3 separate regions of the Homo sapiens genome follow, and regions 2 and 3 are each linked to region 1. The links are contacts of gene promoters, found by promoter capture Hi-C in blood cells and fetal thymus (Javierre and others, 2016). All regions are on one chromosome and are shown on one strand. The core of a region is centred on a gene start or on the middle of the fragment in contact, and the rest is flanking DNA. Distances in the headings are between cores, read along the strand shown.

Region 1 (5,110 bases), core at 977-3,476:
TCCACCCATTGGCTTAAGATCCAGTATCCTGAGTGAGTTGCACAGATCCTCTCCTTCAGTCCTCTCAGGTAGGTGCAGTGGTGTCTCCCTGGAGCACAGAGAGGCCAAGTATCTGGCTCCAAATCACAAGACTTGCAGAGGGTAAGGCTGGTGTCTAAGGTCCCATCAGTTGAACTCCAAAGCAGGCTGTCTAGAAATTGGGTTCAGAGACCTCCCAGCCTGGAACCCAGTTTGATGGAGTCCCGCATTCAGGGGCCAGTAAACCACTGTACCCTGGACAACTCCATAAGCTTCGGTTATATTTTTAGGGCGGTTTTGCATGTTGAAATATTTGCATGCTTCGAGTCTACCATGCATGATCAGGCTGTCCCTGACCAGGGGAAAATTTACATAGTAAAATAGTATTACCCTTGAAATAGATTTAAGATAGGTCCTCCTTTTTCTTGACAGTATTACAACCCAGTTCAATTTCAGGAACTCTAGAGGTCCCTGCAGTTATGAAGAACTAATTAAAGGCATGAAATGTTCCTCTGCAAGTTTCATTGACCATATTGGGCCTACAGTCCATTTCCAAATAAATATCTAAGGTAAGAAAAATATGGGACTCCCCACAGACTACTTATCTACCAGATGGTGTGGGGTTTGGATGGATGTTTTCAGTTACTTCAGCAATTTTTTCATTAATTCAGTATTTATTGAGAACCTAATGTATGCCAAGCTTGTAAAATGCAGTGGGGGGTATGACCTATTCCCAGGTCTCTGGACTCTGGCAGAATGGTAGAGAAGATGCTGTCGGGCTTGCATGTTCAGAACACCGTGTCTTAGGTGACCTCCCGGGCCTTTGGAGGCCCAACCCCAGGGTGGCGGGATAGCCAGGTGAGGCTTTGTTTGGCCTGTTCACGTTTCTCTGGAAAAGAATGGGGGTAGTTAGGCCAGGCGCGGTGGCTCATGCCTGTAATCCCAGCACTTTGGGAGGCCAAGACAGGTGGATCACTTGAGGTCAGGAGATCGAGACCAGCCTGGCCAATGTACAGTGAAACCCTGTCTCTACTAAAAATACAAAATTTAGCTGGGTGTGGTGGTGCATGCCTGTAGTCACAGCTACTTGGGAGGCTGAGGCAGGAGAATTGCTTGAACCCAGGACGCAGAGATCGCAGTGAGCCGAGATTGCACCACTGCATTCCAGCCTGGGCGACAGAGTGAGACTCCATCTCTAAAAAAAAACAAAAGAGAAAAAGAAGTATTATTCTGCAGCCGAAAGGAAGTAGAGATGCACTAAGAAGATCACAGTAGAGTTTGGAACATTTTTGGAGTAAACTGAACAAAATAAAAACGGAGCAGCATGGGAATTATTTTAGCTTCCACCAAAAGGGTCTGTTTCTGCTATAGTTAACGGAAGTTTTCAATTTTCAAAAAATCCCAGTAGCTCGCTGAGTTTCAGCCTCCTGTAATTCAAGTACTGACAGCAGGTACTACTCTTCTTGGCAACAGAGTGAAAAAGGTTTTAAAGATGTTCCCGGGGCGTTAGCTTTGGTGCTGGAGTTGTAACGGCTCATTATGTGTATACAGCATGGAACTGGCAAAGACTGTCACAAGCAAAAAGAACACAAAAAGAGAAAGTAAAGGCTCTGGCTCTCGGTACTTATGGAAATCTCATCGTCATTAATTTGCACAAAGCCATTAAAAATAGCATTTACCAGCAGGGGTCCAGCGTTAATTAGAACCCAGCCTGGGAGCAGCTGGAACTCTCGGCGCTCCTGGCTCAGTCCTCGCCGCCCTGAACCCGTCTGCACCGCAGGGCCCGAGTGGGAGGCAGAGGCCACATTTCTGGATATGAGCAAAAGCTCCGACATTTCGTCCACTCTCGTGTTGTGAACTTTAAAAAATTCTGGAATCTGTTGAGAATTTGGCAATAAGTTTTTAACCACTAAATATGTCAACAACGCATCGCCTCTACTTTTACCAAAAAATAGGCGCACGAAACTCCGCTGTTTGCGCCCGCGGACACCTGTCCCCGCCTCCTCGCAGGAAGCGGCCCCCGCGCGTGGGCGCGGGCTCGGGCTCGGGCTCGAGTGGCGACGTGGGCCGCGGTCCTGGAGGGGGAGAAGCGCCCGGCGGGCAGGCGCGGGGCAGGGAAGCCCCGGGGAACCCACAGCCCCTCCGCAGACCCAGCCAGGGGGCGCGCGCCCGAAAACGCCCCGTGTGCACGCGCCCGCCCCCCTCCCCGCGCCCCGCGCGCGCCCCTCGCAGCCTGGAGCCGGAGCGCTGGCTCCGCGCGGCCTGGAGAGGCGGAGAGGCCTGTCCACCGCCCCCTCTGCCGCCCACGCCCCGCTGCGGGTCGGAGGAGCAGCTCCCGCTCGCAGGTGCTCGGAGAGGCCGGGCCGCGGCTCCCACAGGTGCCGGGAAGCGGCCGCGCGCATGCGCCGGAGCCCACCCGCCTGGCTGCGCGTCCCGGGCCCGGCGGCTGAAGAGGAGCCGCGGCGAGGTAGGGCGGACCCCGGGGAGGCAGCGGCGGGGCCTGGCGGGCGGAGCGGGAAGCAGCCCGAGGCGCGGGTCGGAGGGGGCGGCGGGTGGGAGGTGGTCGGCGAGAGCGGCAGTAGGCGGGAGGGGAGAAAAGGGGAGGCCGGCAGGGGAGAGGCGGGGAGGGGAGGCCGGCAGGGGAGGGAGGGGAGCGGAGCGGAGGGGAGGGGAGGGGGGACCGGGAGAGGAGGGGGCAGCGCTGCCCGCGGCGGGGTGGGCGGCGGTGGGTGGTCTCCGCTCCGCCTCCGGGAGGCCGCGTGGGGGGCGTGGGGGCCTCCTCGCGGGGTCTCCACAGGCCCTCCCCCGGGACGCGGCAACCCCGGCCGGAAGACAATGAGCCGCCCGCGCCGCGCCCGCAGTCACCGCCCCCGCCGAGGGTCCCGCCGCCCCAGCCGGCACGGAAGCAGGAGCAGAAGCCGAAGCCAAGCGCGCGGGGCCAGGGCGGGGGCTCCTCCCGGGGTTGCTCCGCTTGGCTCTCGGCGGTCGCGGGGATCGGCTGTCCGGAGCGAACGGGGGTCTCTCCTGGACTCGGGGCCCTGGGGAGGGGAGCGCGGCCCTTGGTCCTCCGCCGCTGCGCCCGGGGTGCGGGGGTGTCCTGGCTGCTGACCCCCGCGAGCCCCGAGCACCGCGACCCACCCGCCCCACCGCGCCGCGGCTCCCGAGTCCTGCCGGGCGCCCCTTGCAGCCCCCGCCCCATGTGCTGGGGAGACCCCCGGGCGGTCTGGGCGGGATTCCGCAGGGGTCCCTCCTCTCAGGCGGGGCTCATTCTGGAGCATGAAAAGAGGGTGAACCAAAGTCCCTCCACCTCTTTAGAGTCCTACAAAACCACGTTTCCCCCTCCACCCACTCCAGTGTCTATTCTAAGGAAAAGAAAAGGAACAAATCAGTGCAGCGAGCTTTATTCTACTCAGCCCACGAAAGGCGCCGCCGTCAGATTTTAAAGTTCCAGCCATCCCCTCAGGCCCTGAGTGAGAAGTTCGCCCGATTCCCCGCGGTTCCCGCCTCCATTTCCCACTAAGGAGCAGTTACTCAGGCTCCAATTAGGACCCCTTAATGGATGTCAATGGAACCCTTCAGCCTTTTATCCTGAGCTAATAGTGTGCTATTATTAGAATAATCCTCCCCATTCCTGACATCACGGAAGGGAGCGTTCCATTGCCTTCAGATTTGCTCCAGCAACAACCTCGTGTGTGCAGATTTATGGTAACTGGCATTGCAATGCTCCCATCAGGGCATAACTAAGTAAAAATTGTAATGAGGTAAAGCCTTTGAACTTTCCATGTCAGTTGCACAGGCATTGCTGGCCATAGCATTGGACAGCACATAATAAAATCAGTTAAAAGATGTTGCTTACATTATAGTGATGTGTAGCACAGCCACGTTCGGATCAATTACAGACCGCCAAGTTGACGGTGGTCCTGTAAGATTATAAAACTGTTTTCCCTGTGTCTTTTTCATGCTTAGAAATGTGTAGATACACAAACACCATTGTGTTACAATTGCCTGCGGTATTGTGCACGCTGCACAGGTGTGCAGTCTGGAGCAGGAGTCTGTGCAGTGGAGCACAGGTGTGTAGCAGGCTGCACCGCCTAGGTGTGTAGGTGCCCTGTGTGATGTTTGCACAGTGATGAAGTTATCTAACTATCATTTCTCAGAACCTGTCTGCATCTGAACCATTCGTGACTGTATTTAAGCCAGCATTGGGCTTGGGAGGAGGGGAGAAAGCTTAAATGTTGTGGCTCTGAGACTAAAGAAATTCCCAGGGAGCAGGACTCTGTGTTGACTGATGTCTGGGCCTAACTTGAACCTCAGAGCACCTTGCTCTGGGTGGATGGAAGAATCCGGAAAGGTGGTTTGGAGCTTATCGCATCATTTGTAAACTCCAATACAAACCCGCTTCAATGGGGTTTCCATATGTTCCGGTACAGGTAGCAACCTTGGCAGTGGGAGCCCAGCAGGTCCCGTCTTTGTCCCTGTGCTGATACAGAGAGACTCTCCGTGCTGTGGACGCCTCCATCTGGGCACATGTTTCAGTTGTTTTCTAAATACCAAGAGCACAGATTGCTCAGTAATAATAGCTCTCCTGCAAATCTGGAATCACTTAGGCAGCTGCAGTGCCTCTAAGCCTCCTTGCATCCAAGGCTGTGATCAAGGAGGACTGGTGTCTGAGTGGGCTTGAGAAGGGCCCGGAGAACAGCGGGTTTCCTGATCACAAATCAGCCTGTCATTCAGCATGTGTTCCCTTGGTGACTCAGGGCGATATCTGCCCTTCTCCGGAGGTCAAGGGCTCATCGTGTCAATTGTGGTCTTGAGTTTGTTTTTTTTTTCCTCTTGAAATCATTGTAATTAAGCTAAAAGTATAGTGTTGGTATCCAGCACATGTTTGCAAAGTATTTAACAATGAGCAAAAACTTTAAGAATAAATTAAAGCATCTAGTTTACTTTTTGCCAACAGCCAGGTTCCTGCTAGAAATGATTTTGAAATAAATGTTGTCTTGGAAATAGAAACCGTTGCATGTCTTATGTGCATTTTGTTTGAAGGATTAGCATGAATTTCCTTCTCTTCTGAATATTTGTGGAGTTCCCCTGC
Region 2 (5,110 bases), core at 1,791-4,290, 97 kb before region 1:
ATAAGTCGATGGCGCTGCCTGGTCACTGGCTTGGTCAGAAAACACATGCCAGGGTGACTGGATTTAACGTTCAATTTTAGAACCACAAATCTGCCAGCCCAGGCATTCAAGAGGAAGTGAGTAATTCACTGAATTGATGGTTAGCAAGACCCTTCAAAGTCCTTGGAAGTTCCGTGTTTGCTGGGGGTCACAACAGCAATTGCGTTTCTAAAACATTGAAAACCACCCGTTTTTCACACATCTGAATAGCCTGAGTTCTAACAGACCTAAGTAAAGGCGTCCAAACGTGCCTGATCCTGTGGCTGGGTCCCAGGAGCCTTAACAAGGCATTGAGAGAGCTGGATTGATTGATTAGACTCTTGCCAACTGCTGTGCGGAATACAGAAAATGCAGCTCCAGCTCTCAAAGGGCTGAAAATCTAATTGAGGTGAAAAAGGTAACATGTGTGAAAACCATGTCTGTGTAGACTTGTTTTGTATGGACCAGAAAAGTTGGAAGTCCAGAGATGGATGCGAGGAAATAGGGGATGGAGTTTCCTTATAACCTCTGGAGGGACAGTCCAGATACATACCGGGGTGTGTAGCGGGTGGAGGTTCTAAGACAGGCTGGAGGAACAGTGCAGACACACACCAGGGTGTGTAGGGGGTAGAGGTTCTAAGACAGTCTGGAGGGAGAGTGCAGACACACACCGGGGTGTGTAAGCAGTGGAGGTTCTAAGACAGGCTGGAGGAACAGTGGAGACACACACCAGGGCGTGTAGGGGGTAGAGGTTCTAAGACAGGCTGGAGGAACAGTGGAGACACACACCACGGCGTGTAGGGGGTAGAGGTTCTAAGACAGTCTGGTGGGAGAGTGCAGACACACCCGGGGCCGTGTAGGGGGTACAGGTTCTAAGACAGTCTGGTGGGAGAGTGCAGACACACACGGGGCTGTGTCGGGGATAGAGGTTCTAAGACAGTCTGGTGGGAGAGTGCAGACACACACCAGGGCGTGTAGGGGGTAGAGGTTCTAAGACAGGCTGGAGGAACAGTGGAGACACACACCACGGCGTGTAGGGGGTAGAGGTTCTAAGACAGTCTGGTGGGAGAGTGCAGACACACCCGGGGCCGTGTAGGGGGTACAGGTTCTAAGACAGTCTGGTGGGAGAGTGCAGACACACACGGGGCTGTGTCGGGGATAGAGGTTCTAAGACAGTCTGGTGGGAGAGTGCAGACACACACCAGGGCGTGTAGGGGGTGGAGGTTCTAAGACAGGCTGGAGGAACAGTGGAGACACACACTGGGGAGCGTAGGGGTGCTTTTCTCTGAGTCCCCTAGTACATGGTAGAGGCTGTAGACCCTCCGCTCTTGGGCACGTGGGTAGGCTCTCAGGATGACTCTTGGCTCTTGGGCATGTGGGTGAGCTCTCAGGATGATGCCCAGCCCCAAATTTCAGGCAATTGTGCAAGGACTTGACCCATTCATCCGCTGAGCTGAGTTGCTGAGACTGCTGGGTGCCCGGGTGGTGATCATTGTCCGTGGCACACAGAACACACTGCAGCTTCTGCAAAGTGAGCTCATTTCACGCATTTTATGGCTTTGCCAGGCTGCTGTTGACCTGCCAGAACTTTTAATCAGACATTTGGAGGACCTGTTTTGTAGTCAGTGGAGAAATATTACAAGGATAGGGTAATTTGAAATATCTAAGGATTGTAAGTGACAAGTTCATGTCTAATTTTGCATTTCCAGTGAAAGCAAGTGTTGGCTTTGAATGTTACTTATGTGCTGAGATGTGTATATTCCTCAGTGCTTAATTACTAAGGATTTTTAAGGCCAAGTTTTGTTACAGTGAATGACTGTGGATGCATAAAGAATAAATTTAATATTTTTAAGGCATGGAGATTATTTGTATCTAAGAAACCAGGTAAAATAAAGAAACATTTATGCTTGTGTGACTGATAAAAGAGTTAGAGAGACACTCATATTCTGGGAGTTTGAAGAATGTCATTTTCATTCTCTAAAAGTCTTGTTAGTGTCACAGCATTGAAAATTTAAAAATCCGTGTGTATTTTCTTGCTAGTGCTGGTACTTGAATATCTGTATCATCCACCTATCCATCCACCTACCCATATTTCTATAATCCACCGTCCATCGACATGCCTATCATCTGTCCACCATTTCTCTCTGTCTAATTTTCAAAACATCCTGTAAGTTTATATAAAGGAAGATTTTTCTTCTTGTGAAGTTCTCTAAGGCTGACAAGTTACCTGGCATGACTGTGGCGGATGCCCATAGCCAGGTGGTCCTCGGGGTACAGATGGGGCAGGGGCACTTGTGAGAAACACCTGAAGTGCTTTTCCCCAGCCTCCCCGGCCCTGCCCGGGTGGTGGAGGCGCTGCACGGTGCCTTCCATGGAGCAAGCCCGGGGCTCCGCAGGGTCCTCAGCATGATTCAGATTTCCTTCCACCCCCAGCTCTAGATGATTTGGTAAAACCACAAACAGGCACAAAACAGCCCACATGGAATTCTAAAGTTTTAATTTCATTTTGGAATTTATGCACTCAGATGAAATGATTTATGATGATGTTGAGAATGGGGATGAAGGTGGAAACAGCTCCTTGGAATACGGATGGAGTTCGAGTGAATTTGAAAGTTACGAAGAGCAGAGTGACTCGGAGTGCAAGAATGGGATTCCCAGGTCCTTCCTGCGCAGCAACCACAAAAAGCAAGTACGTGTTCCCTGCACATGTGAGGGATGGTTCTCTCGCGTTAACACGGACAGGGGGCTGTGAATATGATTGTGATCCACCTAGTACTTCATAGTGATTTGTTAAGATGCTGATAAGTAGTTTGGGGAAAGCATAAGATATTGGCAAAGGAGAAGACGTGTCTTGTTTCATATAGTTAAGTATCGTCATGGAAAGATGGAGAAATTAAGCTTCTATAATCCACTTAAAAGGTCTTAAATGAGCTCACCACCTTGAATAAGAAAGTAGTTATTCTCTGAATTGCTTGTGTTTTAATGTATTATGTGCTTTGCACGTAGCACCGTTTGCGGAACACTGAATAGATGGGATCGGGGTTCCCTAAGACACAGCACATCTGCACTTTGCTTTAAGTGAGGTTTCAACTTTAGCATGTTCAGCATGAAAAGGAAGACGTAAAAATAGAAGATGTTAAGGGACAAAAGCTTCTAAACTGACCTGTGACAATCCTTTCTTTTTTCTTTTTCTTTTTTTTGAGATGGAGTCTCGTTCTGTCTCCCAGGCTGGAGTGCAATGGCGCAATCTCAGCTCACTGCAATCTCTGCCTCCCAGGTTTAAGCCATTCTCTTGCCTCAGCCTCCCAAGTAGCTGGGATTACAGGTGCCTGCCATGACTCCTAGCTAATTTTCGTATTTTTATTAGAGATGGGGTTTCCCTATGTTGGCCAGGCTAGTCTCGAATCCCTGACCTCAGGTGATCTGCCCACCTCGGCCTCCCAAAGTGCTGGGATTGCAGGTGTGAACCACCACACCCAGCCGGATGATCCTTTCTTACAGGGAATTTTTATTTTACTTTTTTTGTGGAAAAGTCTTGAGATTAGGGTGTGAGGTGGGATGTCAGAGCTGTAAGGCGTGAATTCTGGAATTGGGTGGTTGTGAGTCATGGAACCCAGGAACCATTCAGCTGAGGCACCTCCCAGGTCTCGGTGGTGCCAGGCCGTGCCACCGGTGTTTTGTTAGAGTTTTTTTTGACTGTTTGTAAAAGGATAGATTTGTGCTCATCTACAGTGATGTCTGTGTACTTTCTGTGTGAGGCTGAGATGGAAGCCACACGCAGTCCTTGTCTGAGGCTGGCGAGTCCCGTGTTACTGATAGAGATGGTGAACGGATGCCCGCCATAGTGACAGTTGTCGATAACCGGTGTTATCCCTCCGGTCCCCTAGTAACCCCCAGTAAGCGGAGATTTCATTCCTGGACCTAGCTGCCACGTCCCTATGGTTTACAAGTGATTATGGGCTGCCTACAATTCTCATATTCTGTGAACCTGGCTCGTGAAACTCAAGGAGAATCTACTAGATCTTGGCAGTCAGCTCACCTACCCAGTTTCATTCACAAGTTCTTCCAGGAATTAGATCTTTTCTGCCACCGTCATCATTACAACTGCGATTTAAACAACCGATGAAGCTGCAATTGTAGTTTTTCGGGTTTTTTTTTTCTTTGAAATGGAGTCTTGCCTGTCGCTCAGGCTGAAGTACAATGGCGTGATCTCGGCTCACTGCAACCTCCACTTCCCAGATTCAAGTAATTCTCCTGCCTCAGCCTCTCAAGTAGCTGGGATTATAGGCACCTTCCACTACCAGCTAATTTTTGTATTTTTAGTAGAGACGGGGTTTCACCATATTGGCCAGGCTGGTCTCGAACTCCTGACCTCGTGATCTGCCTGCCTCAGCCCTCCAAAGTGCTGGGATTACAGGCATGAGCCACTGCACCCGGCCTGCAATTGTAGTTTTTAACAGCTGATAACTGAGGTGATATTTCGCTTGCTGTAGCTGAGTCAGACACTTGATTTAAACTGAGATTTAAGAAGAGTGCTGGGCTCTGACATCACAGATGGAGGCTCGGTGTGTGCCTCGGAGCGTGGGTTAAATGCTCTTCAGTTTCGCCTTCATGGTGGGCTGTGGACAGAGGGGCCAGGCCACTGAGGAGCCGAGAGGCATTAGTAGTCACTCCTTGGTAGTAATTCAGGAGACCCTGCCCTTGCTTTGGAGCGGGCCCGTATCCCAGAGGAGCCCTTGACTGTCTGGGCAGTGCCAGTGGTTCAGCAGCCCTCCCTGCTGGGCGAAGGAGCTGGGGAAAGCCAGCACACAGTGGGTTTGTGGTGCAGAATTACAACCCGGGAGCGCTGGGCTCTGCATTTCCAGCCTCTCCTACACGTCCATGTTGCCAGGACAGTGGCCTGGACCGGGGGTGGGAATACTGTGTGGGGTGCAGACAGGGCGCCCGTGTGTTAGGCCTGTCCAGGATGGAAGTGCTGCAGGCAGCACCAAGTTTTCTCGTTCAAAGGGTCACATTTTAAAAACGACCAAAATAAAACTATATGTTGTTCAAAAGTCATCTCAAAAAATCTCGAATTTTGTTAAAAACTTCC
Region 3 (5,110 bases), core at 1,806-4,305, 76 kb before region 1:
AGTGTGCAGTTCTCTCTAAAGGCCAGGCTGAAGTTGCAATGCCCTGGCCAAGCGTGTGCGCTAGGGAAATGATAAATGGATCTTTACCAGGGAGGCCAAGGCGTTAGAAAGGCAGACACTGGACAGAAGCTGTATCTGAGGACATTTAACAATATGCACTTTATCGAGTCTTGGATGCCCCATTAGACGATTTGCTGAAGCTTTTTGTTGTTGAACAAGGATGCCGTGTGTTTGGCAATGTTGTAAAATTGCCGTTTTTAAGCCCTCACACAGGTTCTCTTCCTGATCTAGGTGTCACTTTCTGGGTGCAGAATTATCTGTGCCTGGGAAAAATAGAAAACACGTGATGGGAAAATTCCTAGATGTTTTCTCAAACTTTTGCCCTTGGCTGTAGCTTCTGTTGTGTAGATACAGGCTTTCGGCCCTATGCTGTGACACAGGAATATGATGTTGCAACAGCTTGCCTGAACACTTCCTGGCAGGAGAAAGGGTTAGCTGCCTGGAAACCACTGGTGGTTTCTGCACTGGCAGTTTCGAGTCATTTTATCCTCACTCCGTGTATGAATCATACTTATTGTATATTGGTTGGATTCTACCTAGATGTAGAGGATTATGAGTGAAACAGATTGGTTTCTGTAATTATTTGAGACTATGATGCTATCAAAGGGATATAAGCTTGCAAGTTTTGAAAAAAGTGTTCCTCTTCTTAAATGAATGTTATAATAATAATACGTGAAATGTTTTCCTATATAGTTTGTATATGTACTTGATGAGGTCTATAAATGCTTTGAATAAATATGGAAACAAAATTCTTTCAAAGATATTTGCATAATACCGTTTATGGATCCTTAAAAAAAGAGAAATATTGGATATTTATTTTGTTATTGGATTTTTTTTCTGGCTGTTTTATATATTAGGTTCAACCTTATCACTGTTCTTTAAATACCTACCTTCCCAACATTTTTAAAAATGCAAACAGATTTTTTAAAGAAATAGAATTTTGATGAAAACATTCCTGCTATCAATGCCAGTCACACCAGAGCTCTGCCATCCATCCTAAAGGACTTACGGTTTCTTAGAATAACATGGAGTGATTTTTCTCTCTTTGAATATTGATAGCAAGGGCAAATGTTTCTGCCTCTTAACAGAAACCTTTGTGCTTTTAGGAAAACGAACACGTGTAGGGCATTGTATGTTACGCCAGAGAAGCAGGATCAGCCCCCGCCCCCAGCCCCCATTTCTAGGGTGTGGTTGAGGCCTGTTTCTCAGGATATTGGGCCCACCATGGAATGAGTTGCATGACTTTCTTGCCTGGAGGTTGAACCCACCAAGTGAGACTTGGCAGGAACTTAAAATCACCATCCTTATTTGTCTGTAGTCATGAACATTCTTAACTGAAACCCAAATTACCATGGTTTTGAACAAGGATGTCAGAAAGTGCTCTGGAGTCAAAAAATAAGGTCAAACCAGCAACTTAACTCCTAACACGCTTGCTTAAAGAAAAAAAATCACACAGTCATAATAAAGTTTATCTTATGAAAACATCACAGTGACCGAAAGAGTATTTTGAGGGCGAGTTTCAAATCTTCTGTTTTATGTTGGAAAAGGGATATCTGGACTCTGTGATTTCTCTCTGAATTTCCTCCTGTGTTTCAGTTTTCTAAGTCCATGGTGCTGGATGCATACAGTGAATATGTGAACAATTTCAGCACAGCCGTGGCAGTCCTCAAGAAAACATGTGCCACAAAGCCCGCTTTTCTTGAATTTTTAAAGGTAAGCGCTTTTTTTTTTCATTTGGGTTTTAACACCATCTGATAACAAGTTACATGTCAAAGCTTGACTCTGAATGCAGTTATTCGTTATTAAGATTTCAGTATCAATAGTGCCCTAGATATTGGATTAATGCTAGAAATGAAGATGAATTTTAGGTCCTAATGTAGCTTTTTGAAAACAATTTTATTTGCACCTTCTTAAAAGTGTATCAGCAGACAGACAGAAAGAAAGTTAAAATCAGATCCCCAAAAAAGAAGTCAAGATCAGATCCCAAAGTTACCTTTCCCTCACTGTCCTTCGGTATGGTATTAGGAATCAAATAAACTAAACATCTCAATTCCAGGCCTCTTTGGGATCGGGGAGAGGCACCGGCCTGGAGAGTCAGAGCCTGGAGCGGGCCCTACCCGAGGGGGACGCAGGCTGTGTTCCTCCCAATGCTGAGGACAGCACTGATGGCCTTCCTCAGGGGTCTCTGACCTGGCAGTGATGGGGAGCACGTCCCCTGATGGGTGTGGGTTAGCGTTATTTAATCAGCAGGCAGGCAGGGCTTCCCCAGTCGTGGGATGCGTGTCCGAGGCTGTGTTCTGACAGTTTGCTGCACAATGAACCAAGCTGAAACCCCCTTCAAAGACGTCGGCGGAACTGAGTCTCCTTTGTGGAGCCCCTCATTTGCATGATAAACCCCGGGGACAAAGTGTGTTCTTGTTACTTGGACTGTTTCTTGGAAACTGCTGCTACCTGGAGCGAGTGAACACAGGGCAAGTATTCTCGCCCACAGCAACGTGTCATTGAAGCTGGAATTTTTTCCCTCTGCCTTATCCAGCACGGCGGCTCCTGCTCCTCCTGGAGCACAGTCTGTGGCCCATGGAGGTTTGCTAAGGGATCGGATCGCAGTTCCCACTCTGGACAGCTGTGAGCTCTGTCCTAAGGGATCGGATCGCAGTTCCCCCTCTGGACAGCTGTGGGCTCTGTCCTAAGGGATCGGATCGCAGTTCCCACTCTCGACAGTTGTGGGCTCTGTCCTAAGGGATCGGATCGCAGTTCCCCCTCTGGACAGCTGTGGGCTCTGTCCTAAGGCATCGGATCGCAGTTCCCCCTCTGGACAGCTGTGGGCTCTGTCCTAAGGCATCGGATCGCAGTTCCCACTCTCGACAGTTGTGGGCTCTGTCCTAAGGCATCGGATTGCAGTTCCCACTGTGGACAGTTGTGGCCTCTGTCCTTTGGCTAGGGAACCATCTCTTTCTTTTGGGGAAAGAAAACATGGACTCACTTAAGAGCTCACTCCCTCTGGGGATTTTGCTGTACTCCCATTAAGGATGCCAGCCGTGGCCGTGACCGCAGTGCCCACTCCTCAGCTCGGTGGCTGCCACGTGGCCTTGGGAGATAGACTCTCTCATCCCATTTCATTGCTCCAGGACCTGAGCCCCAAAGAGTCGGGTGCCCTGTGAGCTGAGAGGCCGAGGCACAGCCAGGTCTGTGCTGTCTGCCCTCTCCACTGCACAGCCCCCTCAGCAGAGGGACCTGGAGACTCCCCCCAGGTCAACATTGCCCAACAGCCTTGGTAGCAAATGGCCCCACTGCACATCCCTGATGTGCTCAGGGAGAGGAGCCGTCAGCCTCCAGGACGTCTTTCTGCCCATGGCACCGGAAGAGGTTGCCAGCCTTTTCTGGGGGCCCACTATGGCCAGAACACAGACACCCAAGGACAGCCCCTGGAATCTGCCCAGTCCCCTGGCCCGGGGAATTCACCCCTGGAGCTGAGGCCAACGTGTGAGGTCGGGCCCCTGCAGCAAAGCGGAAGCCCCTAGAGCAGGTGCAGAAAGTGGCTGGAAGGTATTTGGCCAAGTTTCTTCTTGTAGCTGAAGACAAGGTGCAGGCTTTTGACTTTCCCGAGTGTTCAGTGTGGTGGGGAGGAGGCGGCCCCAGGGGCAGGGAGGGCATGGCAGCCCTGCAGGGAGGTGACCCCGGTGCCTTCCCCCACAGCAGGAACAGGAGGCCAGCCCCGATCGAACCACGCTCTACAGCCTGATGATGAAGCCCATCCAGAGGTTCCCACAGTTCATCCTCCTGCTCCAGGTAAGTGCTTCACGGAGACCTCCTCAAGCTAGTCCTCTGGCTCGCCCATGACTCATTTGAAAATGGCGTCTGTTCCTCCACTTTGGAATGGCTGCCCCTCGGGCCTCCTCATCTCCTCTCTAGGCAGTTACAGGAGGTGGAGGGTAGAGGCAGGTGGAGACCTGCGGAGAGTCACCCTACGCCGGGGGCAGCTGTAGGGCCCAGTGCCTGCGAGGCCAGCCTTGGGGGACAGAGGGGATGGGCTGCGGGGAGGGGTGTTGTGGGCCCTGGCCTGCCTCACGTGCTCTCACAGGGCCCCAGCACTGGGGGGCCGCGGGGCTTGGTTATCAGTGGCCCACAGGTCACAGCTCCCTTCTCCAGTGTGTCTGTGTCTGGTCTAGGATCACATGAAAAATGATTCTCGCCTCTGTGCCCAGAGGGGATGGACAAGCTTGGAAAGCTAAGAATAGATTTAAACAAAACATACCCATCACTGATTTAACAGCAAATCACCGAGGACAGGGAGATGCTGCGATGGTGAAAACACTGTCCACTGGACCCTCATTTCTCTAAACTAAGGATTCTCAATTGGATACCTGTGGCTGTGAACAGTAGGCCTGTTCTGAGTGCTGACGTGACGTCTCACAGCGGACGGCCTCTAGGTCACGTCTGATGCAGTGTGTGGTTGCCCGCTCGTTTTCCGACCTTCCCACATAACCTGGAGCCCAGGTGACCCTGTAGGCTGCGGGGCTCAGCACCCATTTTATTTAAATGAATGCCATGCCTCCAGGGAGGATATTTCAAAGGAGAGTCTATGCTGGTTTCTGCCTGTGTTGATTTTTCAATGATTGCTCAGCTTGCTTTTTCTAATTAAATCAGAGGACTTTGCTTGGACTGCCTGCTTATTAGAGCCGATTAAGATGAACTGGTGGAGTCATCGCCAGAAATGAACTGGCGCCTGGGAAATAGTGTGAAGTCCCCTTCCATTGAGGTTATTTTTATTTTTGACCAACCAAATCCATGGCACATTCTTTTTAAATAAATGTAGTCATCAAAGTATGAAAAAGGATACATACTAAAATATCGACATGGGCTCTTTCCATGGTTAGGTTGATGGCTCATGTTAATTTTATCCTCTGGCTTATATTTTTAACAATGTGCAGTTTGCCTGTATTACAGCATTAATAACAAAAGCTGTTTTTTCCCAAGATCAAAATATTCAAAGTGTGTTTTATTTCTTTAGCTGACAAATATGTACTGAGTTCTAATACGTGCGAGACGC

The links. The method cuts DNA at HindIII sites, captures the fragments that hold promoters and counts their contacts. A CHiCAGO score of 5 or more calls a contact.
Region 2: a contact is called between a fragment that was not itself captured here and the fragment with the promoter of KBTBD11 in region 1, in 1 of 17 cell types (neutrophils). The highest score is 5.1, in neutrophils.
Region 3: a fragment that was not itself captured here is called in contact with the fragment with the promoter of KBTBD11 in region 1 in 1 of 17 cell types (monocytes); the score reaches 5.4 in monocytes.

What each region holds. Positions count from the first base shown.
Region 1 is chr8:1,971,451-1,976,560 of GRCh38, forward strand. It overlaps KBTBD11 (kelch repeat and BTB domain containing 11), which reads left to right and starts at 2,227. Exons shown (of 2, transcript NM_014867.3): 1 at 2,227-2,485. KBTBD11-AS1 (KBTBD11 antisense RNA 1) reads right to left here and starts at 1,895. Exons shown (of 3, transcript NR_136275.1): 1 at 1,698-1,895; 2 at 1,090-1,213; 3 at 1-907. KBTBD11-OT1 (KBTBD11 overlapping transcript 1) reads left to right here. Exons shown (of 3, transcript NR_126346.1): 1 at 1-68; 2 at 475-587; 3 at 4,449-4,994. The HindIII fragment of the contact is 3,527 bases long and covers 717-4,243 here.
Region 2 is chr8:1,874,028-1,879,137 of GRCh38, forward strand. It overlaps ARHGEF10 (Rho guanine nucleotide exchange factor 10), which reads left to right. Exons shown (of 29, transcript NM_014629.4): 8 at 2,544-2,707. Among named protein-coding and RNA genes, the nearest start is that of ARHGEF10, 53 kb to the left of the region's middle. RefSeq lists an enhancer at 1-63. The HindIII fragment of the contact is 252 bases long and covers 2,915-3,166 here.
Region 3 is chr8:1,894,677-1,899,786 of GRCh38, forward strand. It overlaps ARHGEF10 (Rho guanine nucleotide exchange factor 10), which reads left to right. Exons shown (of 29, transcript NM_014629.4): 14 at 1,657-1,773; 15 at 3,757-3,849. Among named protein-coding and RNA genes, the nearest start is that of ARHGEF10, 73 kb to the left of the region's middle. RefSeq lists a silencer at 2,727-3,021. The HindIII fragment of the contact is 2,444 bases long and covers 1,834-4,277 here.